Linked DNA regions of Homo sapiens: region 2 is linked to region 1. Evidence: promoter capture Hi-C in 16 types of primary human blood cells and fetal thymus (Javierre and others, 2016). All regions are on one chromosome and are shown on one strand. Each heading gives the region's core, a stretch centred on a gene start or on the middle of the fragment in contact. The rest is flanking DNA. Distances are from core to core; before and after follow the strand shown. Region 1 holds the start of GNRHR (gonadotropin releasing hormone receptor). Region 2 has its middle 28 kb from the start of YTHDC1.

Region 1 (6,438 bases), core at 664-3,163:
GGAATGAAAGGAGGAAAAGGGAAGGAAGGGGAAGGGAAGGGGAAGGGAAGGGGAAGGGAAGGGAAGGGAAGGAAGGGGAAGGGAAGGAATGGGAGGAAAAGGGACAAATAATGAATGATATGCTCTAATCTTTTTCCCCTAGATATAGAAGACAAAGAGCAAAATATACTTCACTAAAATTGGATTTTTACATAAATGTTCTTTCCTTTGTTTTTTGGTTGCTGGTCCACTTACAAACACTTTTCATATTTGTATGTCTTTCCAATGGTTATCCTGTTTTGTTCATTTCAGGCATATGGCCCTGATCAGATTAACTGACATGATGTATATGCAAAGCCTTTTGAGTTCTTCAGAAAAATAAATTATCTTATTCAAGACTGATTGCTTATAAGGAACTTATTATAGCTAATATAGTAGGCACAATTTTTTTTTTGTAATTCTCCTAGATGAGTCAGAACTTAGTTTTGACGTAGGTAAAAATTTTATGGTCACAAATCTCAGGTGTGAGAAAATCTCTTTCCTTGATACTCTATATAAATAGAGGATATAAATATTTCAAGTCTGGAAGTAGTGAGAGAAGCTGGTAATTCTGGACATATAGTGACAGTCAAAAAGGAGCTCAGGTACAGGACTGGTCTAAGCTGCTCAAGATTCAGGAGACAGCCAGTACACAGAGAAGCTGAGGAGATACATAAGATATATCTAAAACATTTATCTAACCTTCTGTGGTAACAAGCTCCTTAAAGGGGCTGGATGATGTTGTGTTCACTTTTTATCACCAGCAAAGGCTAAGATAATGTATATAGTAAATATTTAGTAACTATTTATTAAATAAATAAATATTTAAGACAGAATAAACAAGTATAATAAATGAACCAATAAGAATGCACCATCTAAGTCAAAATAGCCACTTTTATCCTTAACATTGTACCTGCTTTGGCTGCTGCAGAAGCAAACTTGTTGGCATTAGACAAATCAAGCTGGTGATTTAATAAATTCCAATGTAAGTCTTACCAGTATTGATGAATAACTATCCAGCACTCACCATGAAAGTTAAAGAAACAACACAGAAAAAGTTCCTAAGTGGTCCCAATTTGAAATGATCAGATAACCTATAAAAGAACATATTCATATTATACTAACATAAACACATATAAATGCACTTACAGCAGTTACACAGTATTCTCTTCAATAACTAGTTTCCTTATGCATTAATGTGTAATAACAGCAACTACAATATTTAGATAATTATAAAAACCAAGGCAATAATTTAAAAACTGATTAACCGTTTTACTCTAACTTAAGCATGGATTGGATCAGTAAGATTGATTAATAAATTTGAATGCAGTCAGTTGGATTGATTCTAATTTAAAGTTTTAATTTGTTGTAGAATAATTTTAAGTGAATATATTTGTCCAGTGTTCGAGTGCTCAACAGTGTGTTTGAAAAGGAAAACAAAGAAATGTTTTTGAGAAATGTGTTAATTCCTTAAGACAATGGATTTTAATTGGATCTAGTTGTTTTCATTTTTCTTCATTATCATTATACATCTGTATGTTGGACAGAACACTAACACTAAATAGTTTTTAGAAAAATTTTTTAAAGTTATTTAAATCATAATATCATGACTGACTTTTAAATTCAAAATTAGGCTGTGACTATCCTTCTTCACTTAGGAAGAGTGTTGTGAAAGCCAGACCATCTGCTGAGGTGCTACAGTTACATGTGGCCCTCAGAATGCATTTGGCCTGCTCTGTTTTAGCACTCTGTTGGATTACCAATACACAAAACAAGTTAACCTTGATCTTTCACATTAAGTATCTCAGGGACAAAATTTGACATACGTCTAAACCTGTGACGTTTCCATCTAAAGAAGGCAGAAATAAAACAGGACTTTAGATTCGGTTACAATAAAATATCAGATGCACCAGAGACACAAGGCTTGAAGCTCTGTCCTGGGAAAATATGGCAAACAGTGCCTCTCCTGAACAGAATCAAAATCACTGTTCAGCCATCAACAACAGCATCCCACTGATGCAGGGCAACCTCCCCACTCTGACCTTGTCTGGAAAGATCCGAGTGACGGTTACTTTCTTCCTTTTTCTGCTCTCTGCGACCTTTAATGCTTCTTTCTTGTTGAAACTTCAGAAGTGGACACAGAAGAAAGAGAAAGGGAAAAAGCTCTCAAGAATGAAGCTGCTCTTAAAACATCTGACCTTAGCCAACCTGTTGGAGACTCTGATTGTCATGCCACTGGATGGGATGTGGAACATTACAGTCCAATGGTATGCTGGAGAGTTACTCTGCAAAGTTCTCAGTTATCTAAAGCTTTTCTCCATGTATGCCCCAGCCTTCATGATGGTGGTGATCAGCCTGGACCGCTCCCTGGCTATCACGAGGCCCCTAGCTTTGAAAAGCAACAGCAAAGTCGGACAGTCCATGGTTGGCCTGGCCTGGATCCTCAGTAGTGTCTTTGCAGGACCACAGGTAAGCCATTATACACAAACTTATTTGGATATGGTGATCATAGATTTCCTATCTAAATTTGATATAAGGTCTTATCAAAGGAAGTACTGTATTACCTTTAAGAGCTTGGGTTCTGGAAGTCAGAGAGTGAAGTTTAATTCTGGCTCTGTTCTGTTACCTTGGGCAAACTTCTTAACCTCTCTGGTTTCAGTTCCTTTACCGATAAAATGTAACATGGGGGTTAATGCTTACTTAATACTGCTTTTGTGATGAATAAATAAATAAAGTAGCTCACATAATCTCTATTATGTAGCAAATGCTTCCCCAAAAAAAATGCGATTCTCAAACTTGACCTTATCTCCATCCTATTCTTTTATCTGTTTTTCTTTTTGTTTTGGTTGACATGGCTTTAATGTTTAGTTGAGATAATTTTTAGGAATTATGAAATTTGCCTAGGTAGAAAATATTTATAATGTTTCTTATTTAGGGTTTCTTCAGTGGAAATTTTAAGAATTCTGTCACTGCAGCTTAGAGAGAATTATTCTTTGTTAGTATGTTGCTCTGCAGTTTGCAGCTAAGTGGGACTGAATATAGAAGAAAAGTAAGACATCTTGGATGTTTGGAAATCCAAATATTTCCCTAAAGTTAGCTTGAGTTTTGCTGGAGGCAGCTTATTGAGAAAGCCATATGACTGACAGAGTAGGCACAGGCCCTCCCCACAGAGGGCAATTATCTTTCCAGGTTGCCTTCACCAGAAGCAGCCTAGTTAACTGACCTGCTGAACCTGCCATTTTAACAATCAGATCCCCGAAGAAAAGGACAAATTCTTGAAAATAACAAAGAATGTTAATAGCAGATGAACAAGTTTTCTCTTGCATTTAAATGTACTACATGATAAACCCAGGATACAAGGATGTGTCAAGAAATAAATCAGAATTAACTAGGATCCTCCAAAACTTGCCTCTGAAAATGGAAATTTATCTAGACTTTTTTTTACTGACCAGATGGTTAAAAAACAACAACAACAAAAAAAAACTGCCATGCAGAACTCACTATATAGCACAAGACACTAGAAAGCTGGATAACTGTTTTATCCCATCAATTTCTCACTTTAATATTTCTTTTGAATATGTGTGTGTTTCATAATAAGAATAATGGGAAAAACTAAAATGTTTTCATTTTCTGAAGAAAAATATATGATTTATTTCACAGTGATGCAATACATAAGAATAAGTTTAGCAAATATATCACCTGAAATGAGGTGATTTAGCTAAGGCTTATGCTCTTAAAATTTTCCACATTCTTTCTTTCCACTTTTGCACCTATGGTCCAAGTTACCTGGGAGGTTGGGAGGGAGGTTGTGGTGGGAGGATCACTTGAGCCCAGGAGTTCGAGACCAGACTGGGCAATATAGGGAGGCCCCATATCAACAAATTATTAAAAAAAAAATTGCTTAAATGCTGGTCATGATGACCCGCACCTGTGGTCCCAGCTACTTGGGAGGCTGAGGTGGGAGAATCGCTTGAGCCTGGGAGGCAGAGGTTGCAGAGAGCCATGATGCATCACTGCAACTGCACTGCAATCTCGGTGACAGAATGAGAACCTGTCTCAAAAAAGAAAAAAAAAAGGCTTTGGGAAAATTTATGTAGGCCCAAATGGCCCAAATGGAGTGGAATAAAACAAAGACTTTTTTAAAAATCATCTGGCAATGAGGTGATCAGGGGGCTAGGGTGGTATCAAAGAGAATAGATAGTAAAAGAGACATTTCAAATAAAATACAAAACCTGACAACAAATTGGATTGAGAGAGTTAATAATAGAGCAGGGGGAAATAAAGTTCCAATTTTTTTAGCCTAGGAATTAAAATAGTAAAACCATTGAAATGATCCGGTGGGAAGGGGAGTGTTTGTTTGTCTGCCTGTTTGTTTGTAGAAGGGAGAGGGAAGGCAGGCTATGAGAAGTAAAATCATTTGCTTTAGGACATGACTGTTGGCAATATAAGATCTGTGTAATTACAACTATGTGTAAAGTAGTTGGTAATTTGAGGTGCTGATGTAGATTAAAATCCAAACCAAAGTAGAAATAATCCTATCTGCAATAATAACTGAAGGGCAAACTCACGATTTGATTCTTCTTAGAAGAAGTCTCCTAGAAGCTATAAATAAAATATTGCTTTATCAATCCAATTATTTTCATCTAAGTATTAACAGCAATAATAGAAAGATAATGCCAAATATTTATCTAACTTGATGTAGCAAAAAGAAAATAGGAACTTAACTTTGAATTGTTTAGGAATTTCATGTAATAGTCTGACCTCAAATACATTACTAGAGAGATTTATGTGAATGTGAGCCACAGAAAATGGTGTTATTTTATTTTGTAAAACACATGACTCATCCTTACTTTCAACAACACTTTAAAGCACTTTGCTGAAGTTTCCTGAATAACCTCACATAAGTAATGCTGATATTTACGTTAACTCTATAAGGTAAATAGGAGCTGTGTTATTATCCCTATTTCATATATAAGAGAGCTAAGGTCTAAACCTATGAAGACAATGGCATTCAAATCCTTTTGCAATAATCCAAAGTAAGAAATACACACTACACTGAAACCTTGTTTGTGTCTCTGTCTCTTTCTCTCACACATATAACTGAGAAAAAATTTTGATGAAATAAATATTCTATTCTGTTACATTTTATTTTTTACTGTTGATTACAACTCATTGCTGAGCATATCCTGCAGTTCAAAAAGCACTGATTTAAAAGGATTCATTAGCATTCCCAGTGTCACGTGCTCTGTTGGACTCGTGTTGTCTTATTCTTTCCTTTTATTATGGCTCTCTTCAATTTCTCTGAATAAAAGAAATTTCAATCCCATAACTAATGTTACATATATTTGATGAGGAACATGAGAGAGAAAGAGGGCTTTTTATTTCTAGACTGTGATGCATGATGAGTGTGTCTCATGCTTCACCATGCTCTGTGGTCAATTATAAAAAATGTAATTGACAAAGGCACGTCCTATTGTGCCTAATTTACATTAAAAGGGTAACTTTAATTTTCATCCTTTGGTGCACATACCGATTTTCTATTATTTGAGTAATTCATACCTCAGTTGAAAAAAAAACACTTAACAAACATGTTTTCACCACTCAGGGCTGGGGATCTGGGAATTTATGACATTTTGCCTCAGCTCAGAATGACCAAATTTCAAATTGGCCTCCTAGATTTTCCACTTTCCTCATTATTAACCTCAGAAGCTATGTTCTGTGATAATTCGGCAGTGCATTCTCAGAAGTTTTAGCATAGTGTGGCATAGAAACTTTCAAACTTTATGCTAGTAATAGAATTCTTTTTAAAAAATTCTATATCACAATGTACCCCATAAATATGTACAATTATTATGTGTCTGTTAAAAATTTTTAAATAAAATACAGTACAAAAAATCCTGTACAAAAAGCCATAATGAATGAAACAGATATAAGTGGAGCTGCTCTGGTTAAAATAGAGGGAAAGGAGGACCAGTCCTCCACTTGGTTATTCACTAGCTCTCAGTCACAGTTACTAAAGACTTCCTATCTCCTTGCAGCAAAGTTCAAAAGCCAATGGGATAGTAAAAGTGGCATGAGTGTGAGATTCAAATGGAGTTGGGCTCAAATCTCAGTAATACTGCCTACCAGCTATGTGACTCTGAGCAAATTACTTACATTTAAAAGAGTAATTGTAAAGAATAAGTCATACAATTTATAAAATCATCTAAGACTTTACACCTTAATTTTAAATACTAATTTAATATTTATTTTTCTTCTTTTCCTTTCTTCCTAAGACCATCCTTTCTTCTTACCTTCATAAAAGAGGTTTTGAAGTCAGGAAAGAAAAAGTACAGAAATATGAGTATGGAATTGTTGGTTCTTTAAGAAACAGCAAAAAGAAATGCTTATATAAAAGTGGATTATTTCAAATTTTTCAAA
Region 2 (6,320 bases), core at 3,710-6,209, 620 kb before region 1:
ATTAAGAGAATACTATTTCAGCCATTTCCTCTAATAGGTTGTGCTATATAGTCCTTTGCCTTCTTTTTCTTTTGTGATTATTCAAAGGAGGCAAGACAATAAGAGTATGAAGCACAGGGTAAGTACAAGAAAATTTTGCGAGGCACTGAACTCCTATAATAATCTTCATTCAAGATCATTAATATAGTAGTTTGAAAAAGATAAAATGAAAGCTTCAATCTAAATAAGTTCTAAAGATAACACATCAAGATCCATAGATGCAATTTAATCCTCACATTATACATTATACTGATTAACAAGGTAATTGCAAAATAAATTCCATGGTGGAAAAATATCAAAATATCAACAATATGTATCATGTGGAAAGGTGAGGTTTTTGATGATCATAGTACGTTCTTTTTTCTTTTGAAATATATTTTCTACATTTATGTATACTAATACTAATAGATATGTCAATTCGAACTTTGTGGCTTATCTCATTATTATCATTTACCTAAATAAAACTAGAATTAAAATATAACTACTGTGGTATTTATCTTCCTCTAAGCTTAGAAAAGATATAATAGCAGGACATCATCGAAAGTGTGAGAATTCAGTGTGCACATGCTTAGACGGCGTTGACTTCCATATACTCCCTTAAAGTTCCCTATTCCTCATATTTCAGATTCTACTACATATAGTTATTTTTAGACTATCAAGTCACAAAATTGAATTAATCACACCCTTCATTTCATTGCACATTTTCAGCGTCTGTGCAATACCCCTTTTTAAATTTTACCTTTCTACTTTTTACTACCTTTTTCCCATGCATCCACCATTCTCACCTCACCCCACCCTTACATATTTAATTTATACCCTACCAGTATATCATTGCTATATTCATTTAGATATATGTGTATCTTTAAAGATGAATTTGGTGTTTCTGGGCATATGCATGTAATATCCTTGAAAGTTATTCTTTTATAAATCTCATATTGTTTATTCCCCAATTTGTCATGATATTTTAAGAGCCATCCAGATAAATATTAATCTAGAACATTATTTCTGAGTGCTGAATATAACTTTATTATGTGTCTATCCCTTATTTTATTTCCCATTCCTCTGTCAATGGACATCTAGACTTTCTCCATTCTTACTACCACAAACATTGCTGTGAAAAATATTCCTAGGGACATGTGCAAGAGACCTAGAAGTGTAATTGCTACATCATTGAGAAAGTATAAAGATAGTTAATTTACCAAGTACTTTCAGGTTGCTCCCTGGAATGGTTGCAACAGCTTACTTTCCCTTAAGTTGAATGGGAGGTCTCTTATTTCCCAACATCCTCATCACTGCATGATATTGTCAGACTTTCCAATTGTTTTAATTTGCAGTTCTCTGATTACAGAGTAAGGGTAAGTCACTCTTCGTTTGCTTATGAACCATTTGGGATTCCCAGTTTATTTGTGTATTTTCTGTTTCAATAGTAGAATGCAAACTTCATAGGTGCTGTTGTTTATTTGCATCTCCATTCCTTTCCTGATTAGTTTTAACATAAATTTGTCTAGTCAATCTTTTAAAAGAAAAGCCAGTTTTGAGTTTTTATAGTTCATAGTTATATGTTTAGAATACGTTGAATGAATGATGAATAAGTAAAAAAGGAATGTCATTTGCTGTGTAACAAACAACTGCACAACTCAATGACTTATAACAACAAACTTTTTATCCTCACTCACCAAGTGCCCACCTACCTGTGGGTAGTTGTGGCTCTGAAGAGGCATATTGGGCATGGCTCCAGCCTGCAATTTGAATGAGGTCTGCAATGAGAGGAAACTGTTGTTTAGATTTTTTAAAACTTAGATTTATAGTTTACATGTTCCAAATTCCTTTTCTTTAAAATATAGGAAAAAAAATGATACCGAATATTTATGACCCAGTAAGCCTAGGAAAACATCTTGCAAGCTGAGTTGTCATGAAAATATCTTGAGTAAGATTATATTTGATTATTCTCTCTGCTTTAGTACAACTTAATATGTTTTACTTATATTTTCTGACTTTCATTGTAAAGATGATAAGCCTCTCCAATATGGCAAATTATTTTACTACAGAGACTGTCTTAACATAACATCTGCCCAAGGTTTATTTTAAAAAAAAAAAGAGCATGTTTCAGAAAATTGCATGAAGTCATCAAACATGTCTTATGTCTCATAGCAGAGTTGCTATTCAGTCAGTATACATGACCATACAAGTTGTTAAAATATTGAAACAATCCTATATACATGGTAAATAGAAGCCACTTTGAGACCCTGCCCCATGCCTCTGCCCCAGCCCACCAGAGGTGTACTCATAATCCGGACATGAAGGGCACAGCATCCAGGAAGCTGCTCTAGCAGTTTGGCTGGTGTCTGTTCTGATTGGTCAGTGCCCTATGTTGTACTAATTGTTATATATTTTAAATATCACGTCTGAAGATAGGAAATAGCGCAAATTCTCATGTACAATGTGTAAATAAACTCATGGGATTTTGTCGGGGGTGGGGGTTGGGCTTTGTTCCTCCAACAAATACGCACATATACATACGACATGCATGACACCTATGTATACGCTCCAAAATCTCTGGGATAAAGAAAGCAATACAGTGTGTCTCTCTTCCTGAAGCTGTTTATATTAAAGATGCCTCTGGCAGTTTTTCATCTAAACACGTTACAAAGCTTCACTTGTTCCACACTTTTCACATCTCTTGGTTAACTTCTGGATTGATTCCTTGTCTTACTTGAGCACATCCTCCCAAAGTGTTTTCAAACAGAATTTTTGTCAGCCTTCTGAGGCCTTGTGTACCTTACAATAACTTATTTCAGCCTTACATTGAATTAATTGGATATAGCATCCTAGCTTCAAATTTCTCTTATTTCAACAATTTCTCTGTCCTCTTTCTATCAAATACACTCAGCCCTATGTATCTTCAGGTTCTGCATTTACAGATTCAAACAACCTGGGACCGAAAATATTCAAGAAAAAACCAAATTAACAATTAAAAAAATACAAATAAAAACCAAAGCAGCATAACAACTATTTACATAGCATTCCTATTGTATTAGGTATCATATGTAATATAGAGATAATTGAATGTATACAGGAGGATGTATGTAGATTATGAGCAAACAGGCCATTTTATATAAGGGAATTGAGCATTCCTGGATTTTACTATGAAGGCAGTGGGTCCTTGAACCAATCCTTGAAGATACTGAAGAAAGACTGTACTAATATCACTCTTTCGTCCTGCAAAATTCTGTCACTGTATCTTACCTTTTCTCTCAGTTTTTTAGCACTGCTTTGTCCTTCCTGAGTCCTTCTAGAAGAGTTGATTGACCTGATCTTTCAGCTCACTAATTTGTATTTCAAGTGTGTTCACTCTGAAAAGCAGTATCTAAAAAACATCTATAAGGTTTATCTAATACCATACTTACTGAGTTATTTCAGTTATTAGGTTTTTCATACTGAATATCTCCAGTTGGTCCTTCATAACTGATTTTTCTGATTCATGTTTCTAATTTCCTCCTTTGGGTCTCTAAAAATATTTTTAGTCCTTTTAAAACAATTATTACACTTTTGAACATTTTTTTCTATCTGATCCATTCATTTGGCTTCCTCTTTTATTTTTATTTTTTTAGCTTCCTCTTTTAAAGATATCTGTTTGCCTACCTTCTTTTCATAATACATACATTCTTCACATTTTGTGATTTTGTTATTTTTTTCCTGTGAACATACAGTCCCTTATGGTCTTGGATGATATTCAGATGATTTAATAACAAGGACAGCATGGACACCAACTAATCCTAACAGAATGCTGAACATATTAGAACAGATAGATGCTCACTGTTAACTACCTGATATGGGCTCAATGACTGTCGTCCTAACTTGAGACTATCAGCTAATCATACTAATTAAGTGTACTATTATACCCTGATTAGTATCCTCAGATTACAAAGTTATTGTACCAAAAATCTCCTCCTAAAGACCCAATTCTGATGTCAATTTGATCTAAACTGGTTGACAACATAATTTCTAAATCTTTTCCCTGCAATGATTAAAGTATAATCCAACAGCTTCTTAAGATTTAAAGATAAGATTTTCAAGATCATAAAAGGTTTAACATAAGAAAGACTGTACTAATATCACTCTTTTGTCCTGCAAAATTCTGTCACTATGTCTTAACTTTTCTCTCAGGTTTTTAGCACTGTTTGTCACTTCCTAAGTCCTTCTAGGTAAGGACTAAGATAAAATAATTCCAAGAAAAGACCTCATGCTAGGAATAGTCTGTTTACCATCCAGCAAGAGTATTCTTTTTATTTCCAAATTAGATAACCTGCTACAATCATGAATTATTTTACATAGTTTATTTATATTAAAATTTAATAAAACAGTGGTAAAGTTTATCTGGTACTTTAATACTATTCTCTTTTTTTTTTTTTTTTCAAGTCAAAGCTGTTTTATTATCATTCACATTATTTCATAGAAAAAGGAATGTAGCAAACGTCAGGGTCAGGGTTGTACATAAAAAATCCAGGTTTGTAGAGGTCGCGTTATTTACATCTGGGGGCAGGGCTGTCCCAGCATCAGGCACAGCAGCTGCACTTGTCCGACGCCCCTTTGCAGATGCAGCCCTGGGCACACTTGGCACAGCCCACAGGACAGCAGGAGCAGCAGCTTTTCTTGCAGGAGGTGCATTTGCACTCTTTGCACTTGCAGGAGCCGGCGCAGGTGCAGGAGTCACTGGCGGCACAGGAGCAGTTGGGATCCATGGCGAGCTGAAGAGGCGGCTGGAGTCGGGACAGGTTGTACACGGGCTCGCTGGGACTTGGAGGAGGCGTGGTCAATACTGTTGTCTTTTTAAACTTTTGTTCAACATTTCAGTATCAGACTATTTCTTCTTTGGCACTTGCTTTCAATTCGCCTATCTTGCCACTAGATGGAGAGGGATGCCACTAGGTGGAGGGTGATGCCTACCACTAGATGGTACTTAAACTTACCTTCTTGCATTCAACAGCCTAAAAGATAGCTGTTTAAGTTTAACGTGTATATACAGGGTCTTGTCTTAATATGGTGAAAAATTAATGTTCCAGTTTCAAAAGCGAACTTATAACATCTTTTTTCCTCTAGGTCATTGAAACAAGAATTCTCTCTCTCTCTATCTTTCTCTTTCTCTCTTTAAATTGTTTTTACAGACGGGGTCTCCTTCTGTCACTCAGGCTATAGTGCAGTGGCATGATCATAGCTCACTGTAGCCTTGAACTCCTCGGTTCCCACCTCAGCCTCCCCAGTAGCTGGGATTACAGACTTAAGCCATCATGCTGACGAGCCTTCTTTAATACCTATGCTAAAACTCCATGTACTTATTTGGGAAGAAAAGGGAAGATGGTTAGCCCCATGAATAGTGACAATAATAATAATAAAGTTATCACCATTTCAGGATGGTGCTGTACATGCCACCTGCTGGAGAAAAAAGATGTGGGAGGTGTTACACTGACAGCCTGAGGGTTCCCCAGGAATTCATTTAGCCTCATTAATTCGGGGAAGGGTAGTTATTCCACCAGCAAATTCCAGCAAGCGAAATGGCAGCTTTGGACATTTGGGCCTCTCTAGTTTCTTTGAGTTATACAGTGCTTCCTTATAGAATTTATTTCCTTCCATGGATCTTACTGTGAGTAGCCAGATATCTAAATCCTGGGCTCATGCACAAGTAACCCCCAGACCTCATAAAATTATACTGCTGTATATTCGTACACTTACATTTCAAGTCTAGCATTTGCATCTAAATTCATTTGGCTGCATCATAATCAAGTCACATAATCTTGCTTTCATTTTAAGTCTTACAGGCTTCAACTAAGTTTAATTTTGAAAACAAGGCAGGGCGCGATGGCTTACGCCTGTAATCCCAGCACTTTGGGAGGCCAAGGCGGGTGGATCACTTGAGGTCAGTAGTTTGAGACCAGCTTGGCCAACATGGAGAAACCCCGTCTCTACTAAAAACATGAAAAATTAGCCAGGCGCGGTGGCTCACACCTGTAATCCCAGCACTCTGGGAGTCTGAGGCGGGCAGATCACTTGAGGTCAGGAGTTCGAGAATAGCCTGGCCAACATGGTGAAACCCTGTCTCTAATTTAAAGAAAATACAAAAATTAGCCAGGCGTGGTGATGCATGCCTGTAATCCCAGCTCCTTGGGAAGCCGAGGCAGGAGAATCGCTTCAACCGGGGAGGCGGATGTTGCAGTGAGCCGAGATCAGGCCACTGCGCTCCAGCCTGGGAGACAGATCGAGACTCCATCTCAAAAAAAAAAAAA

Evidence for each region. The method cuts DNA at HindIII sites, captures the fragments that hold promoters and counts their contacts. A CHiCAGO score of 5 or more calls a contact.
Region 2: a fragment that was not itself captured here is called in contact with the fragment with the promoter of GNRHR in region 1 in 1 of 17 cell types (neutrophils); the score reaches 5.7 in neutrophils.

The regions. Positions count from the first base shown.
Region 1 is chr4:67,749,863-67,756,300 of GRCh38, reverse strand. It overlaps GNRHR (gonadotropin releasing hormone receptor), which reads left to right and starts at 1,913. Exons shown (of 3, transcript NM_000406.3): 1 at 1,913-2,487. The coding sequence starts at 1,966. The HindIII fragment of the contact is 5,914 bases long and covers 1-2,330 here.
Region 2 is chr4:68,374,784-68,381,103 of GRCh38, reverse strand. It overlaps the pseudogene MT2P1. Among named protein-coding and RNA genes, the nearest start is that of YTHDC1, 28 kb to the right of the region's middle. The HindIII fragment of the contact is 4,533 bases long and covers 2,693-6,320 here.